Regions from separate parts of the Homo sapiens genome. Here regions 2, 3 and 4 are each linked to region 1. Evidence: promoter capture Hi-C in 16 types of primary human blood cells and fetal thymus (Javierre and others, 2016). All regions are on one chromosome and are shown on one strand. Each heading gives the region's core, a stretch centred on a gene start or on the middle of the fragment in contact. The rest is flanking DNA. Distances are from core to core; before and after follow the strand shown.

Region 1 (2,700 bases), core at 154-2,653:
AATTTACTATTATGCAGCTTTAGCTCTGTAAACTAAATGTCTAAGATTTCTTATTACCCTCTCATCAAATATTGGAAACCCTTTTCCCCTATCTGCCTCCCTCACTAATTTAAAGTCCACAGAAAGCCCCATTTACCAGAATAGCCGCTACGGTTGCGGCTGAAGCTGAAATAGGAGTTATAACCCTCAACGATAGCCAGGGGCTCTGTCAGTGCATCCCCTGGAAAAAAAAAATGTAAGATTAAGTCAGAGGTAAAACTAGCATCCGAGAAACACAAAGGCCTGGAATTACAGTTGTAGGCTAATTCCTTGCACACATCAGAGCCAGAGTTGGGGGTGACGGGAATGAAATATCCATGATTAGAGGAGGACCTAGAAAGATGGGAAATGTCAGAGAGGAAATTGATATCAGAATTAGAAGGCTTGGTGGGGGGCGGTTAGAGACTATGAAGTGGAGGTGGAGAATTAGGTGGGAAGGGGAAAGAATCAGAGCTAAGCCTGGGGGTCTGAACGATAGGAGGAAGCTGGGGATGGGGATGGACATACGAGAGGATGGTGGGAATCTGAGCTAAGGGTGAGAGGTAAGAGAGAGGGAATTAGGGGATCTGAACTGGGGGTGGAGGGAAAAGGAATTAGGGGATTCTGAGGGGAGATAAGAGGGTGAAGAAATAAGAGGACATCTAAGCTTGGGGTGGGAAATGAGGTGGGAATTAGGGACTTTCCGCTGGGAGGAGAGATGGGAATAGATAAGGGGTACTGGGGTTCTGAGGTGGAAATGTGAAAAAGAGGAAATTAGACTGAGCTGGGGTCAAAGATGGGGTGGGAATTAGAGGATCTGAGCTTGGGGCAGGGATGAAGAATTCGGGGGTTTGACTTGGCGGCGGGGAGATGGACAGCGTATGGAAGGAGGAAATTCAGGGGACTGAGTTTGGGGCCGGAGAATGAGTGGGAATCTGACTAGATATGGGGTTTCGAGAAGGAGCTAAAGTTTGCTGAAGACAGGAGATGGAGTGCAATTAGGGGATCTAGCTAGGGTGGGAAATGGAAGTTTAAGAGGGAAGGGACCTGGGTCTAAGGACAGGACTCTAAGAATAGGAAACTGGGAAAGTAAAATTACATGGGACAGGGGACAAAAGTTAGCGGGAAAGAAAAAGTATGTAGGGATCCTGGAATCCAGAGCGCTCACTGGTCACTTTGGTTTCCTGGAGACAGACGATATCCGCATCCAGCTCGTCCAAAATGCGCCCCACGGCCACGGCGGCACAGTTGCTGGGTTCCTGATTTGCCACCCCTTGCAGGGGTCTCCGAATCCCATTGATGTTCCAGCTCACCACGCGCAACATCTTAAAGGGCTGGAACACCTCCCAGCCCGCGCCAACCTAGGCGCGAGCGAACTGCTTCCTGTTCAGAAGTTGGCCAGGCCCGCCTCCCGCGCGCGTTTGCGCAGGCGTTCTCGTGCGTACCACTAAAGCGCCTGACGCACGTCGGGCGGGGGCTTCAACTTCCTCAGCTCTCATTGGCGGGAGGAGGAACTGGGTGGACGCTGAAGGAAGCAAAGCGGAAGCCTAGGGGCAATGAATGGCGAGAGGAGTTTCCAGTTGGGCTCCCGCTCCTTCCGCTCGGACAGCTGAGTCTCAATGCGTTTTTCCTCTACTCAGAAGTCCAAGTGGTGCGTCCGGTTACTTACAAACGGCATTTTGCCACTTTTTAAGCGACGGAACCCTGAGCGGAACTGCTCAGCTGCCAAAGCCCCGCCCTCAGTGCGGCGGACCGCCCACCTAAGTTCACAGATGGCTGCAGCGCTTGCGCCCCAGGAATAGCTGGCGCTAAGTGCTCGCGTTGGACTGGGCAAAGGGAAGTTCATGGTTGGAGGAGGGAGCAGTAAGAGTCGCTCCACTGAGATAAGACTTAGGAGGAGGGCCTTTGGCTTTATTGGGGCAGAGGGGAGGAGGAGGAGGCTGTCTCAAGCCTGCCCTGTAGCTTTTGTCTTGGCTCTTAACATTCTGAAGGATGTAGCCGGACACATCCTTACTCTTGGTTCTGTTTCTCAGATAAGTGAAATCGAAGCCCAGGAAATGTAAGCTCGTGAGCAGCATTGTCTCCGGATGCATCCATGGCTCTTCTGTATATGTTATCTCATTTCATTCTCAAGACAACCCAGTTCGGGACATGGAGGCTAAGTTAGAGACGTCGAATGAATTCATTTCATTCTCACAGTTCACTCTCTCTTACACTGAAGTAGTAGAGCCAGGATTCACACCCTGTCTTAATTAGCTCAATAATTACTTTTCTGAGTGTTTTTACTGACCACACACCTCCCCAGTTAAGTCTTTTCCTCTGGGGCCCCACGGCACCCTATGGTCCATTCTGTCACAGTACTTATAATACACAGCTATCATTGACTTCTATTTCTGCTGCCATTAGAATGCCAGCAACTTGAGAGCAATGACCATGTCTGGTTCATCTTGTTAGCCCCATCCCCTAATACTGGACACAGCATATGTTGGGAAGCAATAGATATTTGTCAGGTGAATGAATGAACAAAGGATAATAGCAAGAGCATCGACAGGTTCATGGCTTGTTTTTGAGAGCACAAAAATTAGAAGTAATGGATATGCCCAATGTCCAGGGAAAAGCATAACGATGCATCTTTAGGTTCCTCACCCAGAATTGCAGCATAATTATTTGTTCCCCAGAATT
Region 2 (2,700 bases), core at 95-2,594, 370 kb after region 1:
AGTTCTAAATCTTGAAACCAAACCTCAAAATACACCAAAAATAGAACCTCCTTAAAGCATAAATCTCACAGGGCCTATAAAACAATAACACAATGGAAAAACAAACAAGATATTCGGGCAACAACAGCATGATGAATAGAATAGTACCTCACATCTCAATACTAACATTGAATGTAAATGGCCTAGATGCTCCACTTAAAAGATACAGAATGGCAGAATGGATAAGAATTCACCTATCAAGTACCTGCTGTCTTCAAGAGACTCACCTAACACATAAGGTTTCACATAAACTTAAGGTAAAGGGTTGGAAAAAGATATTCCATGCAAAAGAACACCAAAAGCGAGCAGGAGTAGCTATTCTTATATCAGACAAAACAGACTTTAAAGCAAAAACAGTTAAAAAAGACAAAGAGGGACATTACATAATGATAAAAGGACTAGTCCAACAGGAAAATATCACAATCCCAAATATATATGCACTTTTATATATAAGTGCTCCCAAATTTATAAAACAATTACTACTAGACCTAGTAGTATTTGTTAGATACTACTAGATAAGAAATGAGATAGATGGCAACATAGTAATAGTGAGGGACTTTGATACTCCACTGACAGCACTAGACAGGTCATCAAGACAGAAAGTCAACAAAGAAAAAATGTACTTTAACTATACCCTTGAACAAATGGATTTAACAGATATTTACAGAACATTCTACCCAACAACTTTAGAATACACATTCTATTCATCAGCACATGAAACATTCTCCAAGATAGACCATATGATAGGCCACAAAACAAGTCTCAATACATTTAAGAAAATTGAAATTAGGCTAGGAGAGGTGGCTCATGCCTGTAATCCCAGCACTTTAGAAGGCTGAGGCGGGTGGATCGCCTGAGGTCAGGAGTTAGAGACCAGCCTGGCTAACATGGTGAAACCCCATCTCTATTAAAAATATAAAAATTAGCCGGGAGTGGTGATGGACGCCTGTAATCCCAGCTACTCAGGAGGCTGAGGCAGGATAATCACTTGAACCCAGGAGGCAGAGGTTACAGTGAGCCAATATTGTGCCCTGCACTCCAGCCTGGGTGACAAAGTGACACTCTGTCTCAAAAAAGAAAGAGAGAGAGAGAGAGAAAAGAAAGAAAGAAAGAAAGAAAGAGAAAGAAAGAAAGGGAAAGAAAGGGAAAGAAAGAGAAAGAAAGAAAGAAAGAAAGAAAGAAAGAAAAAGAAAGAAAGGAAGGAAGGAAGGAAGGAAGGAAGGAAGGAAGGAAAGAAGGAGAAAAGAAAACAAAAGAAAATCGAAATTATACCAAGTACTCTCTCAGACTACAGTGGAACAAAATTGGAAATCAACTCCAAAAAGAACCCTCAAAACCATGCAAATACATGGAAATTAAATAATCTGCTCCTAAATGATCTTTGAGTCAACAATGAAATCAAGATGGAAATTAAAATGTTCTTTGAACTGAACAATAATAGTGACACAACCTATCAAAACCTCTGGGACATGGCAAAAGTGGTGCTAAGAGGAAAGTTCATAGCATTAAATGCCTACATCAAAAAGTCAGAAAAAGCACAAATAGATAAGCTAAGGTCACACCTCAAGGAACTACAGAAACAAGAACAAACCAAACCCAAACCCAGCAGAAGAAAAGAAGTAAGAAAGATCAGAGCAGAACTAAATAAAATTTTAACAAAAAAATACAAAAGATAAATGAAACAAAAAGCTGGTTCTTTGAAAAGATAAACAAAATTGATAGACCATTAATGAGATTCACCGAGAAAAGAAGACAGAAGATCCAAATAAGCTCAATTGGAAATGAAAAGGGAGATATTACAACTGATACCACAAAAATACAAAAGATCATTCAAGGCTACTATGAACACCTTTACATGCACAAACTAGAAAACTTAGAGGAAATGGATAAATACCTGGAAACATACAACCCTTCTAGATTAAACCAGGAAGAAATATAAACTCTGAATAGACTGATAACAAGCAGTGAGATTGAAATGAAAATAAAAAATTGCCAACAAAAAAAAGTAGAGGACCAAATGCATTCACAGCTGAATTCGATCAGACAGTCAAAGAATTGGTACCAATCCTACTGAAACTATTGCAAAAGATAGAGTAAAGGAAATCCTCCCTAAATCATTCTATGAAGCCAGTATCACCCTAATACCAAAACCAGGAGAGGACATAACCAAAAAAGAAAACTACAGACCAATATCCCTGATGAACATAGATGCAAAAATTCTTGACAAAATACTAGCTAACCAAATCCAACAGCATATCAAAAAGATAATCCACCATGATCAAGTGGGTTTTATACCAGGAATGCAGGGATAGTTTAATATATACAAGTCAATAAATGTAATACACATAAAGAGAATTAAAAACAAAAATCACATGATCATCTCAATAAACACAGAAAAAGCATTTGACAAAATCCAGCATCCCTTTATTATTAAAACCTCAGCACAATCGGCATACAAGGGACATACCTTAGTGTAATAAAAGTCATCTATGACAAACCCACAGCCCACATTACACTGAATGGGGAAAAGTTGAAAGCATTCTCTCTGAGAACTGGAACAAGGCAAGGATGCTCACTTTCACCACTTCTATTCAACATAGTACTTGAAGTCCTAGCCAGAGCAATCAGACAAGAGAAAGAAATAAAGGACATCCAAATTGA
Region 3 (2,700 bases), core at 137-2,636, 350 kb after region 1:
CATCAGCTGAGTGCAGCCTGGTTTTGCTTTCTGCTATGAAAAGGCAGCACTGAGTTCCCTGCAATGTCTCACAATTGCTGCACTCACCCTCTCCCAAGTGCTCAGATTCTCTCTTCATGCCATGCACCAGCTGCCAAGGGATGGGGGATAAGTGGCAGCAGCAATTCAAGACTCTTTCCTACCCTCTTCCATGCCTCTTTCAGTGACGTGATGTTAAAATCGAGTACTGTGAGTACTCACCTGAAAAGTACTGAAAGTACTGAAAGTACTTTGTTTGCATAGATAATTGTTAAATCATGTCCTTGTATGGGGGACTATTGGTGGAGCCTTCTATTCTGCCATCTTGTACTGTCCCTCTTCTTTTCTTCTTTTTTAATGTAGGTATTTATAAACTTACCTCTTAGTATAGGTTTTGCTGCATCCTATAAGCTTTGGTATGTTGTATTTTTGTTTGTTTCAAGATATTTTCTAATTTGGATCTCTTCTTTGACCCATTGGTTTTTCAAAAATGTGCTGTTTAGTTTCCACATATTTGTGAATTTTCCAGATTTCCCACTGCTACTGAGTTGTAATTTCCTTCCACTATTGTCAGAAAAGATATTTGGTATGATAACAATCTTCTTAAAGTTGTTAAGACCCATCTTGTGACAAACATGTACTCCATCTTGGAGAATGTTGTATTTATATGTAAGAATTATAATTTCTTTAAAAATGAAACATACACCTACCATATAAACAAGCCATTCTACTCCTTGGAATTTATTCAAGAGAAATAACCAAATGTCCACAAAATGTCCACCAAATGTCCACTTGTTCATAACAGCTGTGTTTGTAATAATCAAAAGCTAGAAACAACCTAAATATCAATCCACAAGTGAATGGGTAAACAAATTTGGTATGGTCATACAATGGAATACTATTCAGTAATATGTAGAAATGAATTATTTATACACACAACAAACTCAATTAATCTCAAAATATTTATACTGAATGAAAAAATCCAGATTATAAAACTCTAGAAAATGCAAACTAGTCTATTGTAACAGAAAACAAATTAATAAACCTTGGGAAAGTGTAGTAGAGCAAGAGGAAAGATTTACAAAGGGAAATAAGAAATTTTGAGAAATAATAATTATGTTCTTTATCTTTTTTTTTTTTTTAGATGAAATCTGGCTCTGTCGCACAGGCTGGAGTGCAGTGGCACGATCTCAGCTCACTGCAACCTCCACCTCCTGGGTTCAAGCGATTTTCGTGCCTCAGTCTCCCAAGTAGCTGGGACTACAGGCACCTGCCACCATGCCTGGCTAATTTTTGTATTTTTAGTAGAGACGGGTTTTCACCATGTTGGCCAGGCTTGTCTCAAACTCCTGACCTCAGGTGATCCACACCCCTCGGCCTCCAAAGTGCTGGGATTACAGGTGTGAGCCACTGCGCCCAGCATAATTATGTTCTTTATCTTAAATATAGTGATTGTCTTATGATATATATATTAAAACTGATGAAATTGCACATTTTAAATGGGTGCAGTTAAATGTATGTAAATAATACTTCAATAAAGCTGTTTTTAAAATAAACGATGTTAACAAATAACAAATAAGTAAGAACTCTTAGTCCAACACAGAAGGAGCTTGGAAGTTGTTGCCTCTGTCCTCACAATAAGAAAAAATCTGAACAAGCTGAAACTAAACAACTCTTCTTAGGTCTATCAAGGCATTGAGGTCACAGGGCAAACTGCTACTCCAAAAATTGGAGCTATAAGCAAATACAGAAAATCACAGCTTACTGGAGCAGAAGCCTACCACTGGAACCAGTACCAAGTTACTTTTATCCATTGCATCATGTCTAGCTTTAAACAAAAAAATTACAAGGCATACTAAAAAATAAAACACAGTTTGAAGGGACAGAGTGAGCATCAGAACCTGACTTAGATATGGCAGATATTTTGAAATTATCAGATCAGGACTTTAGATTAACTACTGTTAATATGCTAAGGGCTCTAATGGAAAAAGTGGACAATATGCAAAAATGGATAGGTGAAGCAAGCAGGCAGATGGACACTCTAAGAAAAAAAATCAAAAGGAAATGCTAGAAATCAGAAACACCATAAGAGAAATAAAGAATTCCTTTGATGGGCACATCAATAGACTGGACCTAGCCAAGGAAAGAATCAGTGAGCTTGAAGATATGCCAATATAAATTTCCAAGATGGAAATACAAAGAGAAAAAGGAATTAGAAAAATGAAACAAAATATCCAAGAACTGTGGGACAATTACAAAAAGGGTAACATATGCATATTGGGAATACCAAAAGGCAAATAGAGAAAGAGACAAACTAAAGCTTTGAAGTAATAATGATTGAGAATTTTTCAAAATTAATAACATATATTCAACCATAGACACAGGAAGACACTGTAAAGAAAATGAAACAAAAGCCACAGACTAGGAAAAAATACTTGCAAAATACTTCTAATAAAGAACTTACATCCAAAATATACAAAGAACTCTTAAAACTCAACTATAAAAAAAAGGAAGCAATTAAAATTGGGACAAAAGATCTGAAGAGATGACTCACCAAGAAAGATACACAGATGGCAAACAAGCATATGAAAAAATGCTCAACATCATATGTCATCAGAGAAATGCAAATTAAAACAATGAGGCCGGGCGCGGTGGCTCACGCCTGTAATCCCAACACTTTGG
Region 4 (2,700 bases), core at 126-2,625, 480 kb after region 1:
GTGAGAGACAAGTAGAAATGAGCTTGGTCATCCCAGACAGTGTGTCCTATAGCAGCCAACCAACCTCCAGCCAAGCCACCAACTGGGTGCAGACACATAAGCTAGCCCAGTTGAGATTAACACAGCCTAGTCCAGATCATAGAACCTCCCAGCTGACCCATAGACTCTGTCTGAGTTTTGGTACATAATTATTCACTTTGGTTTACAACACAGCATTATTGTGGCAGTAGTCCCCCATCATCGTTCTTTCTTTTCAGAGATATGCTGGCTATGCTTGCTTGTTATTTTTCCATATGAACTTAGAATCAGCTTGTCTAGTTTCAGAAAAAAAAAAAATGATATGCTTTTTTTTGAAACAGAGTCTCGCTCTGTCGCCCAGGCTGGAGTGCAGTGGTGCGATCTCGGCTCTCTGCAACCTCTGCCTGCTGGCTTCAAGCGATTCTTCTTCCTCAGCCTCCCAAGTAGCTGGAATTACAGGCGCCCACCACCACACCCAGCTAATTTTTGTATTTTTAGTACACACAGGGTTTCGCCATATTGGCCAGGCTGGTCTCGAACTCCTGACCTCGTGATCTGCCCACCTCGGCCTCCCAAAGTGCTGGAATTACAGGCGTGAGCCACCGTGCGCAGCCAAAAAATGATAATGGGCTTATACTAAATTTATAAATTAATTTGACATCTTTATGATTTTAAGTCTTCCCATCTGAGAACGTGGCATGCCTTTCCATTAGTTCCTTCAGAGTGTTATGAATGTTTCTCATTAAGGTTTTAGACATTTCTTGTTAAGGTTGTTTATAGGTATTTTATCTTTTTTGTTGCTCTAATAAATGGAGCCTTCTCTTCCATATATCTTCTAACTGAATGATTTCTATATATTAATTTTATATCCTGCTACCTTACAGAATTCTCTTGTTTGTAGTAGTTTCTCTATTGGTTTGTTTGGGTTTTGTGGCTGTACAATCTGATCATCTATAAATGGTGATAGCTTTACTTCTTCCATTTCAATTGTATATTTAATTTATTTCTCTTTTCTAATTGTAATGATTACTACCTCCAATGCAATTTTTTTTTGTTTTTTTGTTTTTAAGACAGAGTCTCTCTCTCTCACCCAGGCCACAGGGCAGTAGCACGATCTTGGCTCACTGCAACCTCCACTTCCCAGGCTCAAGTGATTCTCATGCCCCAGCCTCCTGAGTAGCTGGGATTACAGGTGTGCACTACCACACCCAGCTAATTTTTGTAACTTTAGTAGAGATGGGGTTTTACCATGTTGGCCAGGCTGGTCTCAAACTCCTGGCCTCAAGCAATCCACCTGCCCTGGCCTGCCAAAGTGCTAGGACTACAGGCGTGAGCCACAGTGCCCAGACAACCTCCAATAAAATGCTAAATTGTAGTGGAGAGAGTAGGTACCCTTAGTTGGTTTCTGATTTTAGCATATAAATACTGGTGGTATTTCCTGGTTAAGTGAAATGCTGGATTTGGGGGATCTATCTATCTATAGAGAATGAGATAAAATATATATCAGGGAAGAAACCACATATTCCTCTTTTATTGAATGTTTTTATAAAGAATGGGTATTGATACCAAAGTTACTGAAGGAGAAGAAAAATAAAAGAATGGGTGTTGAGTTTTGACAAACAACTCTTTGGTATCTCTGAATAAAATGATAGGATTTTTTTACTTAGATCTAATAATAGGTTAGATTATATTAATGGATTTCCTAATATTGAACAATTCTTGCATTCCTGCAATTAAAACCCACACAGTCATGGATTCTATTTGTTAATATTTAGGATATTGTGCCGATATTCCTAAGTGAGAATTAGTCTATATGGTTTTCTTTTTCTTGTGGAATCTTTGTCAGATCTTGGTATCAGTGTTATTATTCACTTGATAAAAACATTTCTAAAGTGTTCCTTCCTTAGGCTCAGGAAAATAAGAATAGTATTTGAATTATCTGCTTTTTAGTGTGAAAAGACTTCCCCTTGTGAAAGGATCTTGCTCTATCTGGTGCTTTGAGGAATTGGGGAGCTCTTTATAACTTTGTCTATTTCCATGAAAATTGAGCTACAAGGCCAGGCGCGGTGGCTCACGCCTGTAATCCCAAAACTTTGGGAGGCTGAGGCGGGTGGATCACATGAGGTTGGGAGCTCAAGACCAGCCTGACCAACACGGAGAAACCCTGTCTCTATTAAAAATACAAAATTATCCAGGCTTGGTGGTGCATGCCTATAATCCCAGCTACTCGGGAAGCTGAGGCAGGAGAATCGCTTGAATCCGGGAGGCAGGGGTTGCGGTGAGCCGAGATCGTGCCATTGCACTCCAGCCTGGGCAACAAGAGCGAAATGCCATCTCAAAAAAAAAAAAGAAAGAAAGAAAAGAAAATTGATCTACATGGACTTGTCTTTTAGGGTCAGTTTGTAAATTATATTTTCCTAGGACATTATCCATTTCTTCAGTTCTTTGAACAATTTCTATAGAGTTGTGTTTTGTGATATTTAAAATGTCTTCTTACTATAGTTATGTGCAACTTTTCATTTATTTTGTATATTTGTGCTTTCTCCTTTTCCTGATTATGTTATCTAATAGCTTATATAATTCTTTTTTACAGAATCAACCCACTCATTTATTAGTCCTACTGTTATCTATTTTCTAACTCCTTTATTTTAACTTTTATTTTTGTTAATTCATTCCTTCTGC

What was found. The method cuts DNA at HindIII sites, captures the fragments that hold promoters and counts their contacts. A CHiCAGO score of 5 or more calls a contact.
Region 2: a contact is called between a fragment that was not itself captured here and the fragment with the promoter of APEX2 in region 1, in 1 of 17 cell types (monocytes). The highest score is 5.1, in monocytes.
Region 3: a fragment that was not itself captured here is called in contact with the fragment with the promoter of APEX2 in region 1 in 1 of 17 cell types (monocytes); the score reaches 9.0 in monocytes.
Region 4: a contact is called between a fragment that was not itself captured here and the fragment with the promoter of APEX2 in region 1, in 1 of 17 cell types (monocytes). The highest score is 6.5, in monocytes.

What each region holds. Positions count from the first base shown.
Region 1 is chrX:54,999,066-55,001,765 of GRCh38, reverse strand. It overlaps APEX2 (apurinic/apyrimidinic endodeoxyribonuclease 2), which reads right to left and starts at 1,403. Exons shown (of 6, transcript NM_014481.4): 1 at 1,187-1,403; 2 at 137-220. The coding sequence starts at 1,343. RefSeq lists a silencer at 1,383-1,522. The HindIII fragment of the contact is 4,396 bases long and covers 688-2,700 here.
Region 2 is chrX:54,629,235-54,631,934 of GRCh38, reverse strand. It overlaps a transcript of GNL3L not described here. Among named protein-coding and RNA genes, the nearest start is that of GNL3L, 100 kb to the right of the region's middle. The HindIII fragment of the contact is 2,875 bases long and covers 1-2,700 here.
Region 3 is chrX:54,647,710-54,650,409 of GRCh38, reverse strand. No RefSeq gene overlaps it. Among named protein-coding and RNA genes, the nearest start is that of GNL3L, 120 kb to the right of the region's middle. The HindIII fragment of the contact is 1,909 bases long and covers 432-2,340 here.
Region 4 is chrX:54,515,263-54,517,962 of GRCh38, reverse strand. No RefSeq gene overlaps it. Among named protein-coding and RNA genes, the nearest start is that of GNL3L, 14 kb to the left of the region's middle. The HindIII fragment of the contact is 7,138 bases long and covers 1-2,700 here.